2 separate regions of the Homo sapiens genome follow, and region 2 is linked to region 1. Evidence: promoter capture Hi-C in 16 types of primary human blood cells and fetal thymus (Javierre and others, 2016). All regions are on one chromosome and are shown on one strand. Each heading gives the region's core, a stretch centred on a gene start or on the middle of the fragment in contact. The rest is flanking DNA. Distances are from core to core; before and after follow the strand shown.

Region 1 (5,561 bases), core at 1,168-3,667:
CCAGCACTTTGGGAGGCCAAGGCGGGCAGATCACCTGAGGTCAGGAATTCAAGACTAGCCTGACCAACATGGAGAAACCCCGTCTCTATTAAAAATACAAAAATTAGCTGAGTATGGTGGTGTGTTCCTGTAGTCCCAGTTACTCCGGAGGCTAAGGCAGGAGAATTGTTTGAACCTGGGAGGTGGAGGTTGCAGTGAGCCGAGATCGTGCCACTGCACTCCAGCCTGGGTGACAGAGTGAGACTTTGTCTTAAAAAAAAAAAAAAAAGGAATAGTATAAGGATTCTAGGTTGATAGCTTTTTTTCTTTGAATATGTTTGAACTGTTATTCTGTCTTCTTGCTTGTTTTGATTCTAATGAGAAACTGATGTAATCCTTAGTTTTGTTCTGCTGTATACGACATGTATTTTTTTCCTTGGATGCTTTTAAGATTCTTTTATCACTCGTTCTGAGCAATTTGATTATGAAGTATTTTGATTAGCTTTCTTCATATTTCTTATGCTGAGCTTCTGAAGGCAGGTCTGTGGGTAAAGATAGTGACAGAAGGATTAAAATAATGATGGGAGCTTAGGGAAGTTCTCTTTTGAATAATTCAGTGTAATCAATGCAGTAGGAAGCAAGGTCATTGTGTGAGAATGAGGATAGGAGACAAGGCATTGGGTATGAATGAAGGTATAAAACTAATATGTAGGAAAATCAATGAACAGGGACCTGTAATGAGATGTTCAAGCATCTTTAAGGTCCTACTTAACATCAGTAATCATGAATTTAAAGTCAGCATGATTGGGTGTTTTTTTTCAGATTCAGCTGCATGGGTGCAAGCACTTAGTAAGTGTAAAGTAGGGATGGCTAATATGGTCATTTTGCCAAGTGATTACAGCAATTTAGAGAGGGGCAGGGAGTTGAGGATGCAAGCAAGTGGATGATTGTTGATTATTAAATATATCTACATCAAACTTCCTCAATCAGAGTGAAAACTATTAAAGGCAGTACCTTTCCTCTAGAAGGTTTTGGGCATGTATTTGCAGACCACACATGGGTGTATTGTAACAGCAGAAAGCAAGGGGCTAGAGGAAATTGTCTTACCAGAGCAAATAAACTCTGTTTTTGAATCAAGTGCTTTGTAAAGTTCTTAACGTGGTCCACGCAGCTCTGACTGTCGTGGATCCAGCCTATCAGGGCGCCTCCCCTTCACAGCAAGTTCCCACTGTTCTCTAAACTTCAGACACACTGGACCTCTTCCTGTCCCTTGCATTTTCCACATCTTTGCACATGCAGCTCCCTCTGCAGGAATGCTTTCCCCTTCCCCACTGGCCTATTCATGTCTGAGCTTTCCTGAGTAATTCAAATATTACTATAATAATAAGCTAAGTATTTGGTTAGAGTGCTTCCTTCTTAGCACTCGTCATAATTTTAATGTTTTTGTCATTGATAACTGTCTGTTAATATGCTGTAAGTTTCCCACCTTGCCTGTTTTTAGCCCCATAGAACCTAGCTCTCCCGCACATTTGTAGGTTGTAATAAACAACTTTTTTTTTTTTTTTTGAGACAAGGTCTTGCTTTGTCGTCCAGGCTGGAGTGAAGTGGTATGACTGTGGCTCACTACAGCTTTGCCCTCCTTGGCTCAAGCGATCCTCGCACCTCAGCTTCCTGAGTAGCTGGAACTACAGGCGTGTTCCCACGCCCAGCTAATTTTTTAATTTTTCGTAGAGACGGGGTTTCGCCATCTTGCCCATGCTTGTCTCAAACTCCTGAGCTTAAGCAATCCTTCTGCTTCTGTCTCCAAAAGTGCTGGGATTCCACTACTAAAGATTTGTAAACAAATGAATAGAGATGAAAGCAAATTAAGTGATATGTGAAGTCTGGTGAGGAGAGCAACATCTTTCTTTTGGAGAATTCTCGAGGCACCGGCTAATGCTATATGCCTATTCTTTTTTTTTTTTTTTTTTTTTTGAGACGGAGTCTCGCTCTTTCGCCCAGGCCGGACTGCAGTGGCGCCATGTCGGCTCACTGCAACCTCCACCTCCCAGGTTCACGCCATTCTCCTGCCTCAGCCTCCCGAGTAGCTGGGACTACAGGCGCCCGCCACCTGGCCCGGGTAATTTTTTGTATTTTTAGTAGAGACGGGGTTTCACCGTGTTAGCCAGGATGGTCTCGATCTCCTGACCTCGTGATCCGCCTGCCTCGGCCTCCCAAAGTGCTGGGATTACAGGCGTCAGCCACCGCGCCCGGCCTGCTATATACCTATTCTTTAATAATTTGCCCTGAACCTTGCAGAGGAACCTCTCTCCCTTAGACTCAGGACCCGAGATAGGCTTTGGGAGGCGCCTGCGCACTGGGCTCGCCGGATATACGCAAGGGCGTGGGGCGGAGCTCTGGTAACCCAGGCAACAGCCCGGAAGCCGCTGGCTGGGTTAACCTGTGGCGCGCTCCGCGGTTCCGGCGCCTGAAGTTTTAGCTGCGGTGGCGGCGGCAGTCGGGACCGACTGCAAGGCAGGTTGAGATGATGGATCTGAGGCTTGCAGCTCGCAGTCCCAACGAGCCTTAGGGACCAGGGCTACCAAAAGGGTGGGGAGAACGGTGGTGGCATCTGTCTGTTGCCTGGGATCCAGGCGCCCGGTTGGGGAATCCTTACTTCAGGAAGCGCAGCCGCGGCTCTGTGTTTTGAGAGTGCAAGTACGTGTCAGGGTGCGTGTCTGGGTATGTTTGTGCGTGGCGCCAGAGCACCTCGAGTATGCGCGTGCGCACCGCTTTCGGGAGCTTTTGCACAGAGCTGGTAATTGGGGGTGCTCGATTGTAGCGTTGGGGGAGTTCACCGTGTAGCAGGAGAGAGGCAAACTATCCAGGGTGCTTTGGGACCGGGAGCGTCATTTAAATCGATGGATGTCAGAGGGGCTTCTCAGAAGGCTCCTCCTGTGAGTTTTGAGGAGTCCGTGGAAGTTAACCCAGTAGAGAAGAGAGTGAGCCTAATGAGTGTTCCAAGCAGAGGGAAAAGAATGGTTGCAACTGTGTGTGAGGCGAGAGCTTGGTTTTAGGATTTGCGGGAGATGTGAGAGAACACTGGAAAGAAAAGTCAGCCGGGCCATATGGGGGAGAGGGTCTGAATGCCAAGCTGAGTTGGATTGCTTTTGACAGTGGGGAGCCATCCGAATCTAGAGGAAGTAGGTAAAGGGTTCAGATCTATTCTCTATCCATGTATTTAGGTAGGATTGATTCAACAGTGTTTGGAAAGAGTTCTTGTTTCTCTTTGATCAGTTTTCCACACCAGTCAGAGTGGATTTACTAAGTCCAGTCATAACTATCCCTTTTAAAATTCTTCAGTGGTTTCCTATGGTCTTAGGTGTTCAGATTGCTGTGGCTCACAAGACTACAATCTGCTGTCTGCCTTTCTTCCTTTAACCTCTCACCCTCTCAGATCTTTGTTAATTGAACTGAACTTCTCAAACTCTTCGTAAATGCATTTTCCCTTGCCTGGAATATTCTTTCCCCTGCTTCTAACTTTTATTCGTATTTTAGCTCTCAGTGCAAACATTTTTGGGGGTATTACAGAGAGGAGAAGCTTTTACTTACTGCATAGAGTTAGTTAGGTACTTTCATGGCACACAGAATTTACTTCCCATGCTGCCCTTTTGTTGTAAATACTTGTTTAATTGCGGTCCTCTTAGAAACTCTTAACTCTGCAAGGGCATAGACTATTCTACTTTCTTGTTATATCTGGTGCCTCGCTTTTAGATGGTGCTTCAAAATATTAGTTACATTAATAGATGGATGATGAAGTCAGTGAGTGAAGAGTGAAAGGGAGACTAATTAGAATAATGAGAGCCTGAACAAAAATATTTTTAGTAGAGATGGAGAAGAGCGGGCAAGAGAGATTTTTAGGGAAAAAGTTAATAGATTCTGTTATCTGATTCACTAAGAGATAAGGAACAGAGGTGATGCTGAGGTTTTAAATTGGAGCAACTAGGATTGTAATTCTGTAAATTCAGCTTAATTGAACATATTTATCGAGTCAACCAGTTATATATCAGCAAGTAGAGATTTGGGGTATGATGATGAGCTGTATTTTGATATACTGTATTTGTGATATTTGGGAGATGTATATAGTAGGTAGTTAGAAATGAGCATTTGGTGTTTTTGTTTTGTTTTTGTTTGTTTATTTTAAGAGACAGAGCCTCACTTTGTCACCTAGGCTGGAGTGCAGGGGCGCCATCGTAGCTCACTGCAGCCTCCAATTCCTGGGCTCAAGCAGTCCTCCCACCTCAGCCTCCTGAGTAGCTGAAACTATAGGCACTCACTGCCACTCCTGGCTAATTAAAAAAAATTTTTTTTTTAGAGACAGGGTCTTGCTATGTTGCACAGGCTGGTCTTGAGCTTCCTGCCTCAAGCGATCCTCCAGCCTCAGCCTCCCGAGTTGCTGGGATTACAGATGCGAGCCACTGTGTTTGAAGTTTTGAGGAAAGGTGTGAATCATTGATTTGGGACTCATTTTCACAGTGTGTTTGTTTGTCCATACATTCATAGCTTTGCTCAAGGGAGTTGGTGAGGTCACTGAGGGAGGATGTGAACTGCCCCTTTGTGATCAAGAAAGCAGCTCCATGAGAGCTGGCACCATATTAGACTTGTTTACTAATATCTTAGTTTATTTAGTTTACTTAGTTTACTTGTTTACTTGTATCTCTAATGCCTAGCCAGTGCCTGGTGTGTGCTGCACTCCCCCAAATAATTATTGAATGAAAGGAGAGGGTATCTAATGGAAAGACAAGAAGAATGAGAACTGAGATAGAACTGGGTGGAAATCCTTGATTAAATTGTTTGTGTGGAGGAGGACAATAGAGCCTGTGAAGAAAAGGAGAAAAGAATAGAAGAGGCCAGGTGTGGTGGCTCACGCCTGTAATCCCAGCACTTTGGGAGGCCAAGGCAGGTAGATCACGAGATCAGGAGTTCGAGACCAGCCTGACCAACATGGTGAAACCCCGTTTCTACTAAAAATACAAAAGTTAGCCGGGCATGGTGGCAAGCGCCTGTAATCCCAGCTATTCAGGAGGCTGAGGGAGGAGAATCGCTTGAACCCGGGAGGTGGAGGTTGCAGTGAGCTGAGGTCGTGCCACTGCACTCCAGCCTGGTAACAGAGCAAGACTCCGTCTCAAAAAAAAAAAAAAAAAAAAAAGAAAGCTTTTCAGTGCAAAGGTGGGGTCAGAGTTTTTGTAATTAATAAAACTTGGAGGTAGAACTAAGGATTAGTAAATACAGGTGCTAAAGTGTACCTTTTCATGAAGCTGGATGGCAAGAGAAGGGCAAAGATGGGATAGCAGCTTAACTATACCTGTGTTATCCTACTGTACACAGGTAGTAAATTACCACAGATTTAGTGGCCTAAAACAATTACTATTTATCATTTCACAATTTCTGTGGGTTGTGAGTTTGGACATGGCTTAGTTAGATTCTTTGCTTAGGGTCTTCCAAAGCTGTAATCAAGTCGTTGGCCAGTATGCATTCTCATCTGGAGTTTTAGCTTCTGAATAAGTAAAATATTCTAAATGTAACTTGAAATACTTTTCCCC
Region 2 (5,561 bases), core at 962-3,461, 180 kb before region 1:
GGGCTTGGAAATCTATAACCGCAACTAGGTGGAGGACACCTGTTTCAGCAGGAGGTTATAAAATATGAAGCGAAACTAGGAAGAGGGAGTTGTGATCACGGTTCCAAGGGCTCCACACAGATCCTGGAGTTAAGGGGCACTCAGGTCTCCATTTCGTGACCCCTGGCCCTACCTCTCCTAGATCCAGGTATTTAGTAACCCAGGCTTGAGATCTCAAACCCCATCCCCCAATGCCAAACTCCCTTGTCCCAGCTGGGAGGCCCCCAGGGCATTTCTGAACATGGCCATCTCCAATTCACAGAAATCTGTGTGTTGTTGCAAATAAAGGATGACAAGAGACCACAGCCTACGAATGCGAGCAGCGTCAAGTCAGCAACAATCTTCCAGTTATCGAGAAGTCGGAAACGTCTGATTCTTTCTTCTCCACATTTACTAAGACGTATCTTCTCACCTTCCTGCCCTCCACGTTAAGAGGGGCTAACTATTCCGAAAGACTTCCGTGCCCTCTTCCTTTTCAATTTTTCCACTTCCAAACTCCTACCGAAAGACGAAGAAAAGAGACCACAGAAGAAGATACAAAGAAGTTTCTTAAAACACCTTCTTTTCTAGGTTCTCAAGGCGTCCCCTTTAAGGAACCAGGCCCACCTCTTTCCCATTCACCTACTGGCTTTCCTTCCTGTCCGTCACTCTACCTTTAAGAATATTTCCTGTTTCTTCAACCCAACTTGCACACCTCCGCCCCCCGGCCCTCCTCATTGGGCCGCCCGATCCCCGTTCACTCCTTGGTTTCCTCTCCGCCTCCTCCCGCCCTCTAGCGTAGTGCAACGGCATTCTGTCTTCTTATTGGCTACCACGGCAGCGTTCCCGCAGCCTGATTGGCGGGTTGAGTGAAAGAGGCGGGAACGCGGCGCGCCCAGGGTAGGCTGTTCGCTTGCTGAGCTGCGGCCGCGGGAGGGGCGGGGAGGGGCGGGGGGAGGGGGGCTGGGAAAGTTGAGGCCGCGCTGCCGCCGGGTCTCCGGCCTTGAGGGCTCGGGCTCGCAGCGGCTGCGGTGGCCGCAAAAAGAGGCGGCGGGGGCGGGGGGAGAGGAGGGCCTGGGCCCGCGCTCCCCCAGCCCCGGAGGAGCAGGCGGTGGCCGCGGACGGAGAGATTCGCCCAGACGGTCAGACACTCCTGCCTTCCCCTCCTGGGATCATGACCCAGGCGGGGGTCGCCGCCGTCGCCGCCGCCACCGCGGCCGAGACCGCGCAGCCGGCGGGTAAGTGACTGCGGGAGGGGGCCGCTGACAGCCGGGGCGGGGGGCGGGGGCCAGGGCTGCGGGGGCGGCTCCGGAGGGCGGCCCCGGGCTCAGCTCCACCCACCCCCTTCCTGCTCCGGGAGGCCAGGGCTGCGCTAAGTGCGCCTCCTTCCTGGGGACCCTTGCGTGCGGCACCTGGTGGGGCGTCAGCGCCCGCGGCGAGCGCACCCCTCATCTCCCGCCCGCCCTGCGTCCCCGGCTGCCAGGCCCGTGGGGGGCTCGCACTGCGCCCCAGCTCCTAGATGCGCGCGGGGCGAGAGGGGCCCCACGCTGCCCTGGGTGCATAAAGAGCTGGGCAGCCAGGTTCACACCAGATGGCCTTTGCCCGCCTCCTTCACCTTTTCCTGTCTTCTTCATTCCCCTTCTTTCCTTGCCCTCTGAATTTCTTTCGTACCCGTTCGTCAGACTCATGTGGCTTGCTTTTTCCCTCTCACCCCTCTGTCGAAGTGTTAGGCTTGTGTTTTCTTTTTAGAAGCCGTTCTTTTGCTTTCTGAGTAGAAGCAGTGCAAGTGAATGACCAACTCTTGAAATCTACTTTCATGTATCCGGATGAAATATAAGATTCCTGGACTCTTGTTCATGTTTACAATTTTGATAGTTGAATTCACCCCACTCGTTCTTGAAGCTTGTCCTCCCAACCCTCCTCGTTACATTGGGATATGGTCCTTTGCGTTTATTAACTTTATCTGGAAATATGAGACTGCATAAACCAAAGTGCAGAATTTCAACTTCCGTTCTTGTAACATTTTTACCATCAAGTAGATACAGTAACCTAACACCACACAGATCAAGACAGTCGTGGCCAACTGTGTAGGCAAAGAAGACATTTCCTTACCTATAAACAACGTACAGATTTCTTGAATAAATCTTACGGTGAGTTACATGGATCCTGAAACATATTCCCAGGTTTGCTCTTTTGTAAAGAAAACCAAACAGACAAACCTGCCTTTTGAAGGATCAACAGGCTGTCCTACTCTCCATTCACCTTGATGACTTTTTTCTCTCCCATAGAACTCTTGTTTAACATAGTACAGAGTTGCTGTTTGGGATACATGTGTTGTTTCTCTTTAAGTACTCAAAGTATTTGTTACAAAAGAAGTAAAATACATTGTAATTGCACTTCTGAAAGCAGAAGTAGTGTAATGTATCCATGCAAGAATGAATGCTTAATCCTAAAGCAGTTTTGCTTTAGCCTAAGCCAAGCTTTTCCAACCCCCGTCCAAGGACGGCTTTTAATGCGGCCCAAGACAAGAAGACAAGTTCGTAAACTTTCTTTTATTTTTTTTGAGACAGAGTCTCACTCTGTCGCCCAGGCTGGAATGCAGTGGTGTTATCTCAGTTCACTGCAACCTCCGCCTCCTGGGTTCAAGCAATTCTCCTGCATCAGCCTCCTGAGTAGCTGGGATTACAGGTGCATGCCACCAGCCCAGCTAATTTTTATTTCTTTAAGTAGAGACAGGGTTTCTCCATGTTGGCCAGGCTGGTCTTGCACTCCTGACCTCAGGTGATCCGCCTGCCTCTGTTTCCGAAAGTGCTGGGATTACAGGCATGAGCCGCTGCGCCCGGCCTCAAATTTGTAAACTTTTTAAAACATTATGAGATGTTTGTGTGTGATATTTATTTACTTATTTATTTAAGCTCATCAGCTATCGTTAGTGTTAGTGTATTTGATGGGTGGCCCAAGACATTTCTTCTTCCTGTGTGCCCCAGGGAGGTCAAAAGATTGGACACTCCTGGTCTAAGCTAAAAGACTTAGGTGTACATAGGTATTGGGATCTCCCTGTATTTAGGAGTTTTGCAAAATCTGGATGCAGCCTAGAACATTCGCTGATATAAAAGGAGTGCATTGCAGGGATGTAAGAGCAGCTTAGAATTGAAGTACTTATCTTCTAGGTTAGTCGTCTATGGAACATCGTGGAAGTAAAATTCTAAGGTTGTAGACCTTACACTCAATGAACCAGTCATGTATGAGAAATTGATGGGTACTTTTCCTATTTTCAGAGCTTAGCCTTGTCAACAAGGGAAAAGAAACACTAAGAAAACTGAGAATTTTTAACTCAGGTTAGAATACAAGCTTCAACAGGTAATCAGCTCAAGTTTGTTGCTTATAAACAGGGTCTTAAATCAAGCTTGAGCCTTAATCATATCTGTCATGCTTTACCTCTCTGTTCTCTAGTCCAGTAGTTCTCAATCCAGACTGTACATGAGCATCACCTTGTGTGTCTTTAAGTTTTAATGCCCAGGCCACTTCCCTCAGAAACTCTCTTATTTTTGATCTGGAGTAAAGCTCTGCCATGGGCATATTTTTTAAAGCTCTCCAGGTGATTCTGTTCAGTAGCCCTGGCTGAGAACTCCCATGAGACTACGTCCAAAAGCTAAGCTTGTGTTCTGGGCTTTCCTAAATCAGGCCTCACTCATGTGTCCAACTTTCCCCCCACTGCTTTTGCTACAGACGTTGACGTTGACCTTTCTCAGGATATGGACACCTTTCCTCTATTCCTCCCTACCGCCAATAATAGTTCTAATTACACTTTTATGAAAGTTTTCTGGATAGCTTACTCTAGTTCTTAGTGATCGACCCCCTTTGAACTTCTATGCTACATGGTTAAAAGATTCTCTTTAGGCTTACGGTATGTGGCAGTTTAAGTTCTATGTGTATGTGTTTCATTGTTCTCAAATGTTATGCTAAGGAATATTTTATTTTTCATCTCTTTCACAGTGGTTTTAAGTTGGATTGGTTTGGTTTGGAACCCTTCTGACTCTTCCTGCAACCATAGTTTTAGGTTTGATTTCATCTTAGGTATGTTAGTAGCTTCATCATACCTTAACTAGCATTGAATTCCTGTATAGACATCCGTTTTTTTCATATCTTTTCTTAATTTCATTAGTAGATGATTTATCTTCCGTGGCCCCGTAACAGTTGTACTTGTTTCTGTGCTAGCACTTAGCACACTGCCATAAGTATGTGTTTATATGCCTTCCCCACCATACTGCTAACCAGGGCCTCCATGTTGAGCAACTCCAGGGGGTACCATTCACATATTCTTGAATACCATTGCAACATGGCAGAAATAGAACTCCACTAACATAGGAAATGTGTTCTTTTTATCTTTGTATTTTTGGGACCTAACATTGTATTTGTGATTACTAGGCAGTTAATAAATGTTCTTAAATGAGTAAATGACTGCCATGTTATATATTATAAAAAGATAGCCATATACATCTTGAACGTAAGTTGATTTGGCATTAATTGATTTTGCTATTAAATATTTTTATGTCCTATACTCCTATTATAGATTTGTTAAAGGTTAGTAGAATCTAAGTGATTGTAGTTGTGACAGACCCCTTAAATATGTAATCTTCCTTCCAGTATGCACAGGCATATATGTGTCCTGAGTCTTTTACTCTGTGCTGTAAAGGTATACATTTATTATTCATAAAATATTTGTGGAACTCTTGCTAAAAGAAACGTGGTTAACTGTCCAATTGGATAATTTTTCTTTTTCTCATTAAAATTTCCATATGGGGACAATTGCACTACTTCAGAAGGCCAGATCTTTTAATTAGATCAGTAGGACATGATAAGTTGTTTCTATTAGTGTGCTAATACTGTGTTTTTAATTCAGTTCACCAAGTATTTATTATTTACCATGTGCCCAACACTGTTAGGTACTGAAGAGAATACAGAAATAGTAAATGGTGGACTCAGCTCATAAGAACGTTTTAGACTTATTAGGATTGTTTAAGGAACTCAATGGAGTATTCATTAGATGCTAAATTAAACATAAGTATGTAAAATCTATGACATAATGATTAATACAAAAAAAAGGAAAGACCAGATATTCTTTCAGCAGACATTTATTACTCAGTTACTGAGTGCTAATTGTTGAGGATACAAACATGAAATTTTTTTTCATGTTTGTATTCTCAGTAATATGAATAATATGAATTTTTTACATATTTGTATTCTCAATAATTAGCACTCAGTAATGGAGTAATAAGTTTCTACCATTTATTATAGTCTGGTGGTGAAAACTAGTAAGTATATAGATTGTATTTCATGTTAAGACATTGTGGAGTATTAGGATGTTTGGGAGTATGAAGAAGGGTATTTAGTCTAACCTCTAAGGCAGGGGTCCCCAAGTGGCCTGTTAGGAATCAGGCCGCACAGCAGGAGATGAGCTACCCTCCTGTCAGATCAGCGGCAGCATTAGATTATCATAGGAGTGCGAGCCCTATTCTGAACCACACATGCAAGGGATCTAG

Evidence for each region. Contacts are between HindIII fragments. The CHiCAGO score rates a contact against its expected background, and 5 or more counts as called.
Region 2: a fragment that was not itself captured here is called in contact with the fragment with the promoter of SPICE1 in region 1 in 6 of 17 cell types (fetal thymus, non-activated CD4 T cells, activated CD4 T cells and 3 more); the score reaches 12.8 in fetal thymus.

The regions. Positions count from the first base shown.
Region 1 is chr3:113,512,012-113,517,572 of GRCh38, reverse strand. It overlaps SPICE1 (spindle and centriole associated protein 1), which reads left to right and starts at 2,417. Exons shown (of 18, transcript NM_144718.4): 1 at 2,417-2,676. It overlaps SPICE1-CFAP44 (SPICE1-CFAP44 readthrough (NMD candidate)), which reads left to right and starts at 2,417. Exons shown (of 52, transcript NR_183050.1): 1 at 2,417-2,676. RefSeq lists enhancers at 1,075-1,124, 1,185-1,234, 1,745-1,794, 2,501-2,550, 2,611-2,730. The HindIII fragment of the contact is 3,693 bases long and covers 1-3,561 here.
Region 2 is chr3:113,692,065-113,697,625 of GRCh38, reverse strand. USF3 (upstream transcription factor family member 3) reads left to right here and starts at 984. Exons shown (of 7, transcript NM_001009899.4): 1 at 984-1,256. RefSeq lists silencers at 774-1,243, 1,264-1,653. The HindIII fragment of the contact is 578 bases long and covers 1,923-2,500 here.